Linked DNA regions of Homo sapiens: region 1 is linked to region 2. The links are contacts of gene promoters, found by promoter capture Hi-C in blood cells and fetal thymus (Javierre and others, 2016). All regions are on one chromosome and are shown on one strand. Each heading gives the region's core, a stretch centred on a gene start or on the middle of the fragment in contact. The rest is flanking DNA. Distances are from core to core; before and after follow the strand shown.

Region 1 (6,049 bases), core at 985-3,484, 190 kb after region 2:
TCTGGGCCCCTGGCCTCCTCCCACCAGCTCCGCTCCCTCCTTCCCTCCCACTGGAGGCCCCCCCATCTCTCTCCTCTCCGTAGTGCTCCCTGGGAGCATCTTTTGTGGGCCTCTTCCAGCTTGCCCCAGCTCTTGCCTTCAGTCTCTCACCCTCGGTCTTTTTACATCTTTCTCTTCTGTATCTCTCTCCTTGGTGTTTCTCATTTCTTTCTCTCTCTCCAAATGCCTTCCCCAAATTTCCCCCTTAAGCCTTCTGTCTCTCTCTCCTGTCTTTCCCCATCACTGTCTCCCCCATTTTCTCTCCTCATCTCTGTCTGCCACATCTTGCTCCCTCCTCCTTCTCCCTATCCCTCTGCCTTCTCTCTCCATTCCTGCCCAGGCCTGACTCCCCCAGCCGGGGAGAGTTGAGGGACGGGGGCTCAGGCCGCAGGCCCCCCCTTCCTGCAGTGGTGAAAATGGCTTGGCTGGGAAGGGGAGAAGGAGGGGGAGGGGGAGATGGGAACACACGGGGTCTGTGGGCCCATTCAAAGGATCATTCATGGACTGGAGAGAGGCAGAGACAAAGAGACCAAGACGCAGAGACACGGCGAGAGCATCCCTAGGCGGAGACACGCAGACAGAGCAGGCTGGGGGAAACCAGGCGCAGGGAGGGAGATGGGGAGAGGGAGACCCCAGTGGACCGCCACGCAGCCCCCTCCACCGACCCGGCTTAGGTCCTACCTGGCTCAGCCCTGGGGCCGTGGTGCCTCCATCCAGGGCTCCGAGTGGGGGGCGAAAGGCCTTCGGGAGGGGGCGGCGGCCTCTGAGCCCCCGCGGCCCCGCAGGCCCAGCCCCCGCCCGCAGCGCCTCACCCGGCGGGGGAGGGGGATCGCCCCAGCCCCGGGGGGCGGGGCCGGGATCCAGTCGATCCCCGGGAAAAGGAGAGCTAGGGGATGGGATCAGGGGGAGCCCGAGAACAGGGAACCCCGCAGTAGGGACGATAGAGAAAGGAGGGGGCAACGGGACAGGACTAGATTGAGGATCCGCTGGTTCCGTGGGCCGGCTTCGAGGGACCAGAAGGCGGTCCAGGCGGAGGATCCTAAGGATCGGGTGCTGGAGGAGGAGTCCACGTTAATCCCCAGGGGCCCGGGGCCCGGGAGCGCAGGATCCGCGGTGCAGGGGCAGGGATCCAGCCGGAATCCTCGGGGAGGGGGAGGGATCTAGTCGATCCCGAGGGCGGGCGTGAGGGGGAGGTCCGGGGAGTCAGAGGAGGGCGGGAGCCGAGTCCAGAGCCCCGGGGCGGGGGTCAGCGCGGATCCTAGGAGGGAAGGCGGGGGTGAGGGGAGGCTTCGAGGGACGCTCAGCAGCCGGGAGGCCCGGACTCCTGGCTCCGCGCGCCAGGGCCGGCCCGCCCCGCGTCCATCCCAGCCCGAGAGTGATGATCCGCCGGCGGAGCAGCCGCAGCAGCCCCGCGCGTCACCGCGCGGCCGCCTCCCCCGCCCCCTGCCGAGAGAGCGGCGCACACCCCCCGCTCGCACCCCCCGCTCGCACCCGCCTGCCCGCCCGCCCTCCGGAGAATGGGGGGATTGGAGATGGTGGGAAGAGGCGGGAGCGGACAGACGGACAGATGGACGTAGCGGGCCAGGGCAGGGTGGAGACATTCCCCCGGATCTCCCACCCTCGGGGCTCTCGCGGTCTCGGAGGGCTGGCGGGGGGGAGAATATCTTAACTACAGGGGGCGGGGCATCATACAAAGAAGGCGGAGCCTTCAGACATGGGGGAGGGGCCATTTGTGCAGTGGGCGGGGTTTACTGGCAATAGGTGGGGCTTTGCTATCTTTCGGGCCGCCTCTTTTTGGTAGTGGGTTTGATTTGAAGCTGAACAGGAGGAGCCTGTGGAAAAAGGGGCGGAACTTTGAGAGAAGACCGGGATCTTTGGAAATTGGCCGGAGCATGGGGGTGGGGGGTTCGAAGAGGCGATCAACTTGGAAAGTGGGCCAATCCTTGACGCAAATCCCCCTAGTCCCGCCCTCAACCCCGCCCCCCCACTGCTTAGCTCCTCTGTTCCTAATTGGTGCTGGTTTCTCCGCCCGCCAGACGTCTTCGCCACTCTGCAGCGGTTTTACAAAGGCGGGTGAAGAGCGCAATGCTGAAATGAACACGGCCCGGATTGGGCGCCTGTGAACCTTATTTGCATGGGCGGTCGGGATTGGCTGGCCTCTTGGGTGGCCTGGGCGGCGTTGGTCCGGTGCGTCCTGTTCTACAGCTATGGCCGGGCCAGCTGCAGCTTTCCGCCGCTTGGGCGCCTTGTCCGGAGCTGCGGCCTTAGGCTTCGCTTCCTACGGGGCGCACGGTCAGGGGGCTGGGGACGAAGATGGGACTGTACTTGGGGCGTCCTCTGGGGTCTGCTGCAAGGGCGTAACCTATGGGAGGTGCCCGGCCTCTCGTTTATCAGACAGTCCGCGGAGCCCTAAACCTTTTAAAGTCCCCCAGCTGGGTCCAATTGGTTCCCAGTACTGCCCGAGCGTGTTCCCACCAATCGGAAGCTTCCTGGGGCGGGGGGGGGGGTGCCCTTTCTCGCCAATGTCCACCTGGGTCCCCCCGGATTGGGGGCGGTCAGGGCTGGCACTAGGACCGCTAACCTTTGCTTCTTTTCTCCACAGGCGCCCAATTCCCAGATGCCTACGGGAAGGAGGTGAAGTAACTGCGCTGGGGCTCCCTGACTCGTGGGTCTACGAAGGCACAAAGTCTGGGGTCCCTGGGGGAAGTGGGCGGGGAGAGGGTGGGGCGAGCCGCGGATCTCTGGAGCAGCAAAGGCCAAAGGCTCTGTAAGCCAAAGGCCTGGGATCAAGCTGGGACTTCAAGGGTGGGGTGGGGGAAGGAACTTTGGTCCCTTGTGTCATCAGGGGATCTCAGTACCTGTATTGCCTACGACATCCCTTCGTTTCTGTTTTTCTTACAGCTGTTTGACAAGGCCAACAAACACCACTTCTTACACAGCCTGGCCCTGTTAGGGGTGCCCCATTGCAGAAAGCCACTCTGGGTAATCTTTCCCTGCGCCTAACCCTGACCAAGCCCCACACACTCCCTCTCAGCCTGCCCTGTTCTTAACAATCCTGTTTTCTGTGCTGTGTCTCCTTCAGGCTGGGTTATTGCTAGCTTCCGGAACGACCTTATTCTGCACCAGCTTTTACTACCAGGCTCTGAGTGGAGACCCCAGCATCCAGACTTTGGCCCCTGCGGGAGGGACCCTGCTACTCTTGGGCTGGCTTGCCTTGGCTCTTTGAGCTCCCTTTTGCTTAATTACTGGGTTTTCTGGGCAGTTTTTTTTTTAAAGAGTTGGAGTAAGAAGAGGATTAAAAAGGAAAGGCAAATAAACTTTGGAGTCTTTGTTCATCTAACCTCTTGGAGGACGAAGGGTGGGGATTCAACCTCTGAACTCCCTCCATTTCCTAAGACTTAATCAGTGAGCCTTAGGTCTGGGGATTCTGGTCACTTTAAGTTAACTTATTATAATGTTCTTACCCTGGTGGGCATCAAAGTCATAAAGAATGCTTGAAATAACACAGATTCCTACTGAAGCACTCTTTCGGGCCTGAGAATCTGTATTTTAATAAGCTCATCTTGTGGTTCTGATGCATACTAGGTTTTTAATTTTATTATTATTATTATTATTATTTTGAGATGGAGTCTTGCTCTGTCGCCCAGGCTGGAATACAGTGGCGCGACCTCGGCTCACTGCAACCTCTGCCTCCCAGGTTCAAGCGATTCTCCTGCCTCGGCCTCCTGAATAGCTGGGATTACAGGCGCCTGCCACCATGCCCAACTAATTTTTTGTATTTTTAGTAGACACGGGGTTGTGCCATGTTGGCAAGGCTGGTTTTGAACTCCCGACCTCAGGTGATCCGCCTGCCTTGGCCTCCCAAAGTGCTGTGATTACAGGTATGAGCCACCACGCCCGGCCTGTTTTTATTTTTATTTTTATTTTTTTGAGACAGAGTTTCACTCTGTTGCCCAGGCTGGAGTGCAGTGGTGCGATTTTGGTTCACTGCAACCTCCACCTCCTGAGTTCAAGTGATTCTCCTGCCTCAGCCTCCCAAGTAGCTGAGATTATAGGTGCATGCCACCATGCCTGGCTAATTTTTGTATTTTTAGTAGAGATGGGGTTTCACCATATTGGCGAAGCTGGTCTTGAACTCCTGACCTCAAGCAATTCACCCGCCTCAGCCTCCCAAAGTACTGGGATTTTAAAAAATTACTATAGGGTCATGGTTTTCAGCCCTGTTGTTATCAGCACCCACTTACTCTAGAAGTGAGGATTAAGGCAAGGCAGGATAGGAGTGTCATTAGTTACAAAATACTTTGGGGTTCAAAGCAGGGACAGATCATGTATTGGGGATCAGAAAATGTGTCACAATGCTTGAGATGATCCTTAAAGGAGCTCTATTGTATGGAAGAAACAATGAACAAAGAACAAGATGGAGAGGGGAGGGGTTTGGAGAAGCAGGAGTCTTCAATGTGGGCTGAGTTTGAGTTAGGTAGGAAAGGAGTGAGAAAAGGTGGCAGGACAGGCTGGAGTGGCAGTCACAGCATGTAGAGAACTGGAAGATATTTAGTGGGGACAGTATTTATTTATTGTGACGCAGTCTTGCCCTGTTACCCAGGCAGGAGTGCAGTGGCACGATCTCAGCTCACTGCAACCTCCGCCTCCCGGGTTCAAGTGATTCTCCTGCCTCAGCCTCCCGAGTAGCTGGGATTACAGGCGCCCGCAACCGCGCCCGGCTAATTTTTGTATTTTTAGTAGAGACGGGGTTTTGCCATGTTGGCCAGGCTGGTCTCAAACTCCCGACCTCAAGTGATCCACCTGCCTCAGCCTTCCAAAGTGCTGGCATTACAGGTGTGAGCCACTGCTCCTGGCAGGCACAGTATTTATTAAACCAGTGTTGATCATGCGTCAGACACGTTACAAGGAAGATCAACCCTGAGGGAGACAGATATCCCCTCCCTCAAGGAGTTTCCCATCTAGTAGTGGAAATGGACCTGAAATAACTAAACATTTATAAAATTTGCAAAACATGTATCATTACAAATTGTGCTGCATGCTGAAAGGAAAGGAACAGAGAGGACCCTGTGCGATGGCTCAAGCCTGTGATCCCAACATTTTGGAAGGCGGACGTGGGAACATTGCTCGAGCCCAGGAGTTCGAGACCAGCCTGGATAACACAGGGAGACCCCTGTCTTTACAAAAATAAAAAAATAGCGAGGCGTGGTGGCTCACGCCTGTAATCCTAGCACTTTGGGAGGCCGAGGTGGGCGGATCACAAGGTCAGGAGATCGACACTATCCTGGCTAACACGGTGAAACCCCGTCTCTCCTGAAAATACAAAAAAAAATTAGCTGGGCGTGGTGCCGGGCGCCTGTAGTCCCAGCTACTCGGGAGGCTGAGGCAGGAGAATGGCATGAGGCTGAGGCAGGAGAATGGCATGAACCCAGGAGGCGGAGCTTGCAGTGAGCCGAGATAGTGCCACTGCACTCCAGCCTGGGCGACAGAGCGAGACTCCGTCTCAAAAAATAAATAAATGAATAAATAAAAATAAAAATAAAAATAAATAGCCATGGCCAGGTGCGGTGGCTCATGCCTGTAATCCCAGCACTTTGGGAGGCTGAGGCGGGTGGATCACGAGGTCAGGAGATCGAGACCATCCTGGCTAACACAGTGAAACCCCTGTCTCTACTAAAAATACAAAAAAATTAGCCGGGCATGGTGGTGGGAACCTGTGGTCCCAGCTACTCGGGAGGCTGAGGCAGGAGAATGGCGTGAACCCGGGAGGCGGAGCTTGCAGTGAGCCGCGATGGCGCCACTGCACTCCAGCCTGGGCGACAGAGCCAGACTCCGTCTCAAAAAAAAAAAAAAAAAAAAATAGCCAGGTGTAGTGGCTTGTGCCTGTAGCCTGCAGGCCCAGCTACTCGGGAGGCTGAGTTTGGAGGAACACATGTCTGGTTCCTGACTCATCTTTTTTTTTTTTTTTTTTTTTTTTGAGTCAGAGTTTCGCTGGTTGCCCAGGCTGGAG
Region 2 (5,683 bases), core at 2,397-4,896:
CGCCTGCCACCACGCCCGGCTGATTTTTTTGTATTTTTTTTTAGTAGAGATGGGGTTTCACCGTGTTAGCCAGGATGGTCTTGATCTCCTGACCTCGTGATCCACCCACCTCGGCCTCCCAAAGTGCTGGGATTACAGGCGAGAGCCACTGTGCCCGGCCGAAAGTGCCTTCTGTTTTAAACTCCTGTTTCAATGACAGATGGAAAGGGGGGCAAGAATGGAAGCAGGAACAGAGCACAGTAGTCCAGGTGAGAAACTTGAACTGGAGTGCTAAAGGAAGAGAGAGAGAGTAGTTTTATGTAGGATAAATTTTACGAGTAAAACCAGTAGGACTGACAGGCTCTGTGATACTGAGAGATACATATTTGGTCTCCTGACCAGGCTCCTGGCATTCAACTTCTAAAATCCTTGGAATCTCCAGTGATGTGTGTTTTTGTGTGCTGATGAGTTGATTCATGGCTAGCCCCTCTAGGTGGCTTCATGATTAGAGGGTTGGAACTTTCAGCCTCACCCCCACCAACTTCCTGGGAGGGGAATGGGGCCAAAGGTTAAGGCAATCACTGAGGATCAGTGATTTAATCAGTCATGCCTAGTAGTGAAGCCTCTAAAAACCGGAAAGGGGCCGGGTGCAGCGGCTCACGCCTGCAATCCCAGCACTTTGGGAAGCCGAGGCAGGTGGATTGCCTGAGGTTAGGAGTTTGAGACCAGTCTGGCCAGCATGGTGAAACCCCTTCTCTACTAAAAATACAAAAAAAGGGAGGCAGAAGTTGCAGTGAGCAGAGATCATGCCACTGCACTCTAGCCTGGGTGACAGACCCCATCTCAAAAAAAAGAAAAAAAAAAAAGAAAACCCAGCTGTTCTGCAAGCTTATCTAGAAGACGCTTATAGGTCATTGTAGATCTCTTCCCCTCCCCTCCTAATGTAGTGATTTTGAACACTCAACTTAGTTTATTTTTCCAACTTTCTCTTCTTGCCTGGTATAAATCCTTGGTATAATTCAGTCCTATCCAACTTGGAAGTGGGAAGTAGTGTATTTCAATCTAGGAATGTCTCCTTTCAGGTATTGTTTCTATTTGGTGCTTACAACATGGGATTCACTCCTCTAAAACCTTTCCTGTCTTCCTGCCCCTGAACCCAGGGGTTCCTCTAAGGACTGATTGAGAAATGAAGTGAAAGCCTGGTGTTCTAGAGGCATGTTTTCTGTTTTTCTTAACCCCTCACTTTTTTTTGAGACAGAGTTTTGCTCTGTCACCAGGCTGGAGTGCAGTGGCATGACCTCGGCTCACTGTAACCTCCAACTCCCTGGTTCAAGCAATTCTCCTGCCTCAGCCTCCCAAGCAGCTGGGATTATAGGCACACCCCACCAAGGCCAGCTAATTTTTGTATTTTTAATAGAGATGGGGTTTCACTATGTTGGCAGGATGGTCTTGATCTCCTGACCTTGTGATCCACCTGCCTCAGCCTCCCACAGTGCTGGAATTACAGGCGTGAGCCACCGCGCACAGCCTACCCCTCACTTTTTACTTAAGTTGTTGAGTTTTATTTGGGGATGAGTTGATATTTGTTTGATTAAGGTAAGAGTTCCTTACACTTGCATGTACCTTGTGAGAAGTACTTTCACACCAGCCTTGTCTAATCCTCTTGCTAGTCTTGAGAATAAGATAAGTTGGATATAATCACTTAGCAGATGACACAAGAGGCAGAGTATGTTTTGTTTAAGATCACACAGATAGATACTCTTAGGGACAGATACTGTTAGGGCCAAATCCAGAACTTCGGTGTGTCCCAGTCCAAACTCTGCCCTCTTTACCTTTCCTCCCCCACAAACCACTGGTATTTGGAAGGAGTGGAATTAAAAGTTCCTGACCTTGGCCGGGCGTGGTGGCTTATGCCGGTAATCCCAGCACTTTGGGAGGCTGAGGCGGGCGGATCACCTGAGGTCAGGAGTTTGAGACCAGCCTGGCCAACATGGTGAAACCTTGTCTCTACTAAAAATACAGAAATTAGCCAGGCATGGTGGTGGACACCTGTAGTCGTAGCTACTCAGGAGGCCGAGGCATGAGAATCACTTGAAGTCGAGAGGCGGAGGTTGCAGTGAGCTGAGATCGCGCCACTGCACTCCAGCCTGGGCGACAGAGCGAGACGCCATCTCAAAGAAAAAACAAAAAGTTCCTGACCTTTCCACACAGGTCCTCGTGGTCCGCGGACTCCAGAGTGGTTCTAGCTTTCTATTAATATCACACAGTTTTCCTTATTTAAGTTATGCAAAGGGTCGTGTGCCTGGGACTGTGAGATTCTACCACCATGATTCCTACAGTGACTTTTCCTTTCAGACAAGCAAGCAGTTGGCAGCAGCCTTCCAAGAGGAGTTCACAGTGCGAGAGGACCTGATGGGACTGGCAATTGGGACTCACGGTGCCAACATCCAGCAGGCCCGAAAAGTACCTGGGGTGACCGCCATTGAGTTGGGTGAAGAGACCTGCACTTTCCGCATCTATGGGGAGGTCAGCAAAGGATGTCTTTCTTCTGGGTCTCTTAGGGGATAGAGGGAAGAGAGGCCGAAGTAGAAAATAAGCCTCAAACTGGGCACAGTGGCTCACACCTGTAATCCCAGCACCTTCGGAGGTCAAAGTGAGAGGATCACTTGAGCCTAGGAGTTTGAGACCAGCCTGTGCAACATAGTGAGACCCAATCTCTACAAAAATTTAAAAATTAGCTGGAAGTAGTGGTGCGTACCTGTAGTCGCAGGTACTTGGGAGGCTGAAATGGGAAGATAGAGGGGAGGATCACTTGAGCCTGGGAGTTGGAGAACAACCTGGACAACATAGAGAGACCCTGTCTTTACCCCCCAAAAAAACCAAAAACCAAAAAACGTTAACTGAGCGTGGTGGCATGCATCTGTGGCCCCAGCTACTTGGCTACTTGGGAGGCGGAGGCAGGAGGATCACTTGAGCCTGGAAAGTCAAGGCTGCAGTACACCATGATGGTGCCACTGAACCAACCTGGGCAACATAGTCAATAGAGTGAGACCAAAAAATCAAAAAAATAGACCAGATCTCTGTTGCCCAAGCTGGTTGTTAACTCCTAGCCTCAAGCAATCCTCCCTTCTTAGCCTCCGAAACTGTTGAGATTATGGGTGTGAGCCGCTGTGCCTGGCCAAGGTCCTCTGTTTTTTTTTTTAAGTTATTTATTTGTTTAATTTTTTTTTTTTATGAGATGGAGTCTAACTCACTCTGTTGCCCGGGCTAGAGTGCAGTGGCACAATCTCAGCTTATTGCAACCTCTGCCTCCTGGGTTCAAGAAATCTCCTGCCTCAGCCTCCGGAGTAGCTGGGATTAGAGACGTGAGCCACCAATTTTGTATTTTTAGTATTTTAGTATTTTTGTATTTTGATTTTTGTATTTTTAGTAGAGATGGCGTTTCACCATATTGCCCAGGCTAGTCTTGAACTCTTGAGCTCAATTTATCCACCTGCCTCCAGCCTCCCAAAGTGCTGGGATTACAGGCGTGAGCCACCACATCCAGCTGGTCTTCTGTTTTAGTAACAACTCCCTGCTGTTCTTCCTTTAGACTCCCGAGGCTTGCCGACAGGCCCGAAGCTACCTTGAGTTTTCTGAGGACTCAGTGCAAGTGCCCAGGAACCTGGTTGGTGAGTTGGTGGTGTGTATATACAGTTAGAGGTCAGAATCAAGATTCTCTACAGTGATTCTGAGCTTTTATCCAGGATTGGCACCTCCCTGTGGACTCCCAGTTTCACAAGGACAGAGAAACAGTCTGTAATGGGAGTGATAAAAATGAAAGAATAAATTTCTAGGGATTGTAACATTTTGTCCTGTAAAAACACATCAGAAACCTAGAAGCAGGAGAATGAAGTAAATGGAATCCATATAAAGAAAATGAGGCTGGAAGACGGTGTATCAGCTTTATTCTTATTTCCTTAAAAAAAATAAAAGGCTGAATTCCTCATTTACCTATTCCAGGCAAAGTGATTGGAAAGAACGGGAAAGTGATCCAGGAGATTGTGGATAAATCTGGTGTGGTGAGGGTTCGAGTGGAAGGTGATAATGACAAGAAGAACCCCAGGGAGGAGGTATGGGTACGGGGCAAGTGGGCATAGAGATTGGTTTCCAGAAGTAAATGGGATTGTCCTCTGAGGGCTGGGATTGTTCTTTGAGAGGGTGGAGTACGGAAAGTTGTTTAACACTAGTAGATTTAGAGCCCAGAATGATCCCACTGGGCAGGCTCCCCTAGGAGACTGGGCGGCGTTAATCCTTCCATTTCATTTTCCTTTCTGATCCATCGTTTCTGCTCTCTGTTCTCTAGGGAATGGTTCCCTTCATTTTTGTTGGCACCCGAGAGAACATCAGCAATGCCCAGGCTTTGCTGGAGTATCACCTCTCCTACCTGCAGGTACCCAGGCCGGGAGAGAAAAATGCTGGGTGTGAAAAGGGAACTAAGACTGCTGTGGGGGTCAGCTCAGGGATTTTGGTTCTCTGTTTGTCTCTCCGTGTAGAACAGAAAACATCTGTGGAAATTTGGGGCTATAGGGTTGGGTCCCAGAATTTTCCTTGTTTAGCCAGTGTCTTCCTTCTCCCTGCATTCCTGAGAGGTTAGATATAGAGGGACAGTCAGGGTGCAGAAGCATGAAGCAAGGCACTGATCTTATTTCTCCTTCCCCTTCTTCCATCTTTTACCCAACCAGGAGGTAGAGCAGCTTCGCTTGGAGAGGCTACAAATTGATGAGCAGCTTCGGCAGATTGGGCTGGGCTTTCGCCCTCCTGGGAGTGGGCGGGGCAGCGGTGGCAGCGACAAGGCTGGATATAGCACTGATGAGAGCTCCTCCTCCTCCCTCCATGCGACTCGAACCTATGGGGGCAGCTATGGGGGCCGTGGCCGTGGCCGGAGGACAGGCGGTCCTGCCTATGGTGAGACAGTTATGGGAACAGGAGGCAAGGAGTGGCAGGGCTTGTGGGTAGAGGCAGAGGTCTGGATGGAAGTTTGGGGAAATCTGGAATGGAGATGATGAAAAAGTGATTGATTGGCTGGGAGGCTTGTGAGTGAGAAGGAGAATTCTTCCAGTTTGGGGGATGTGATGGATCCTGAGGTGGGATGAATGGCCGTGAATAAATCCCATTGTGTTCTTCAGGCCCCAGCTCAGATGTGTCTACAGCTTCAGAGACTGAGTCAGAGAAGAGAGAGGAGCCCAACCGAGCTGGGCCTGGCGACAGGGATCCCCCAACCCGAGGGGAAGAAAGCCGGAGGCGGCCGACTGGGGGCCGGGGTAGGGGACCCCCACCTGCCCCCCGGCCCACTTCGAGATACAATTCTTCATCTATTAGCTCAGGTACCAGACAGCTGGGTTCATGAATATGGGCCAAAAGGAAAGATGATGGGCACCTGACTGCCAACTCCTCCTCTTCTTCCTCTGACCAGTGCTGAAGGATCCAGACAGTAATCCCTACAGCCTATTGGACACGTCTGAACCAGAGCCCCCGGTTGATTCAGAACCTGGGGAACCCCCCCCAGCAAGTGCCAGGCGCCGCCGCTCCCGCCGCCGCCGCACTGATGAAGACAGGACCGTCATGGATGGAGGCCTGGAATCAGATGGGCCCAACATGACAGAGAATGGCCTGGGTGAGGGTGTGCCTGGGGTCTGGAAAGTTAGAGATGGGTAGGAATCGA

The links. The method cuts DNA at HindIII sites, captures the fragments that hold promoters and counts their contacts. A CHiCAGO score of 5 or more calls a contact.
Region 1: the fragment with the promoter of TMEM256 here is called in contact with a fragment that was not itself captured in region 2 in 11 of 17 cell types (total CD8 T cells, naive B cells, naive CD4 T cells and 8 more); the score reaches 7.7 in total CD8 T cells.

Annotation. Positions count from the first base shown.
Region 1 is chr17:7,400,282-7,406,330 of GRCh38, reverse strand. It overlaps TMEM256 (transmembrane protein 256), which reads left to right and starts at 2,234. Exons shown (of 4, transcript NM_152766.5): 1 at 2,234-2,331; 2 at 2,642-2,673; 3 at 2,941-3,021; 4 at 3,122-3,356. The coding sequence starts at 2,247. The coding sequence ends at 3,265. It overlaps TMEM256-PLSCR3 (TMEM256-PLSCR3 readthrough (NMD candidate)), which reads left to right and starts at 2,200. Exons shown (of 10, transcript NR_037719.1): 1 at 2,200-2,331; 2 at 2,642-2,673. It also overlaps a transcript of NLGN2 not described here. RefSeq lists a silencer at 1,426-1,755 and an enhancer at 2,246-2,425. The HindIII fragment of the contact is 6,317 bases long and covers 1-2,526 here.
Region 2 is chr17:7,592,646-7,598,328 of GRCh38, reverse strand. It overlaps FXR2 (FMR1 autosomal homolog 2), which reads left to right. Exons shown (of 17, transcript NM_004860.4): 8 at 2,335-2,505; 9 at 3,572-3,650; 10 at 3,982-4,091; 11 at 4,325-4,411; 12 at 4,704-4,926; 13 at 5,148-5,345; 14 at 5,435-5,635. Among named protein-coding and RNA genes, the nearest start is that of SOX15, 5.4 kb to the right of the region's middle. The HindIII fragment of the contact is 5,554 bases long and covers 870-5,683 here.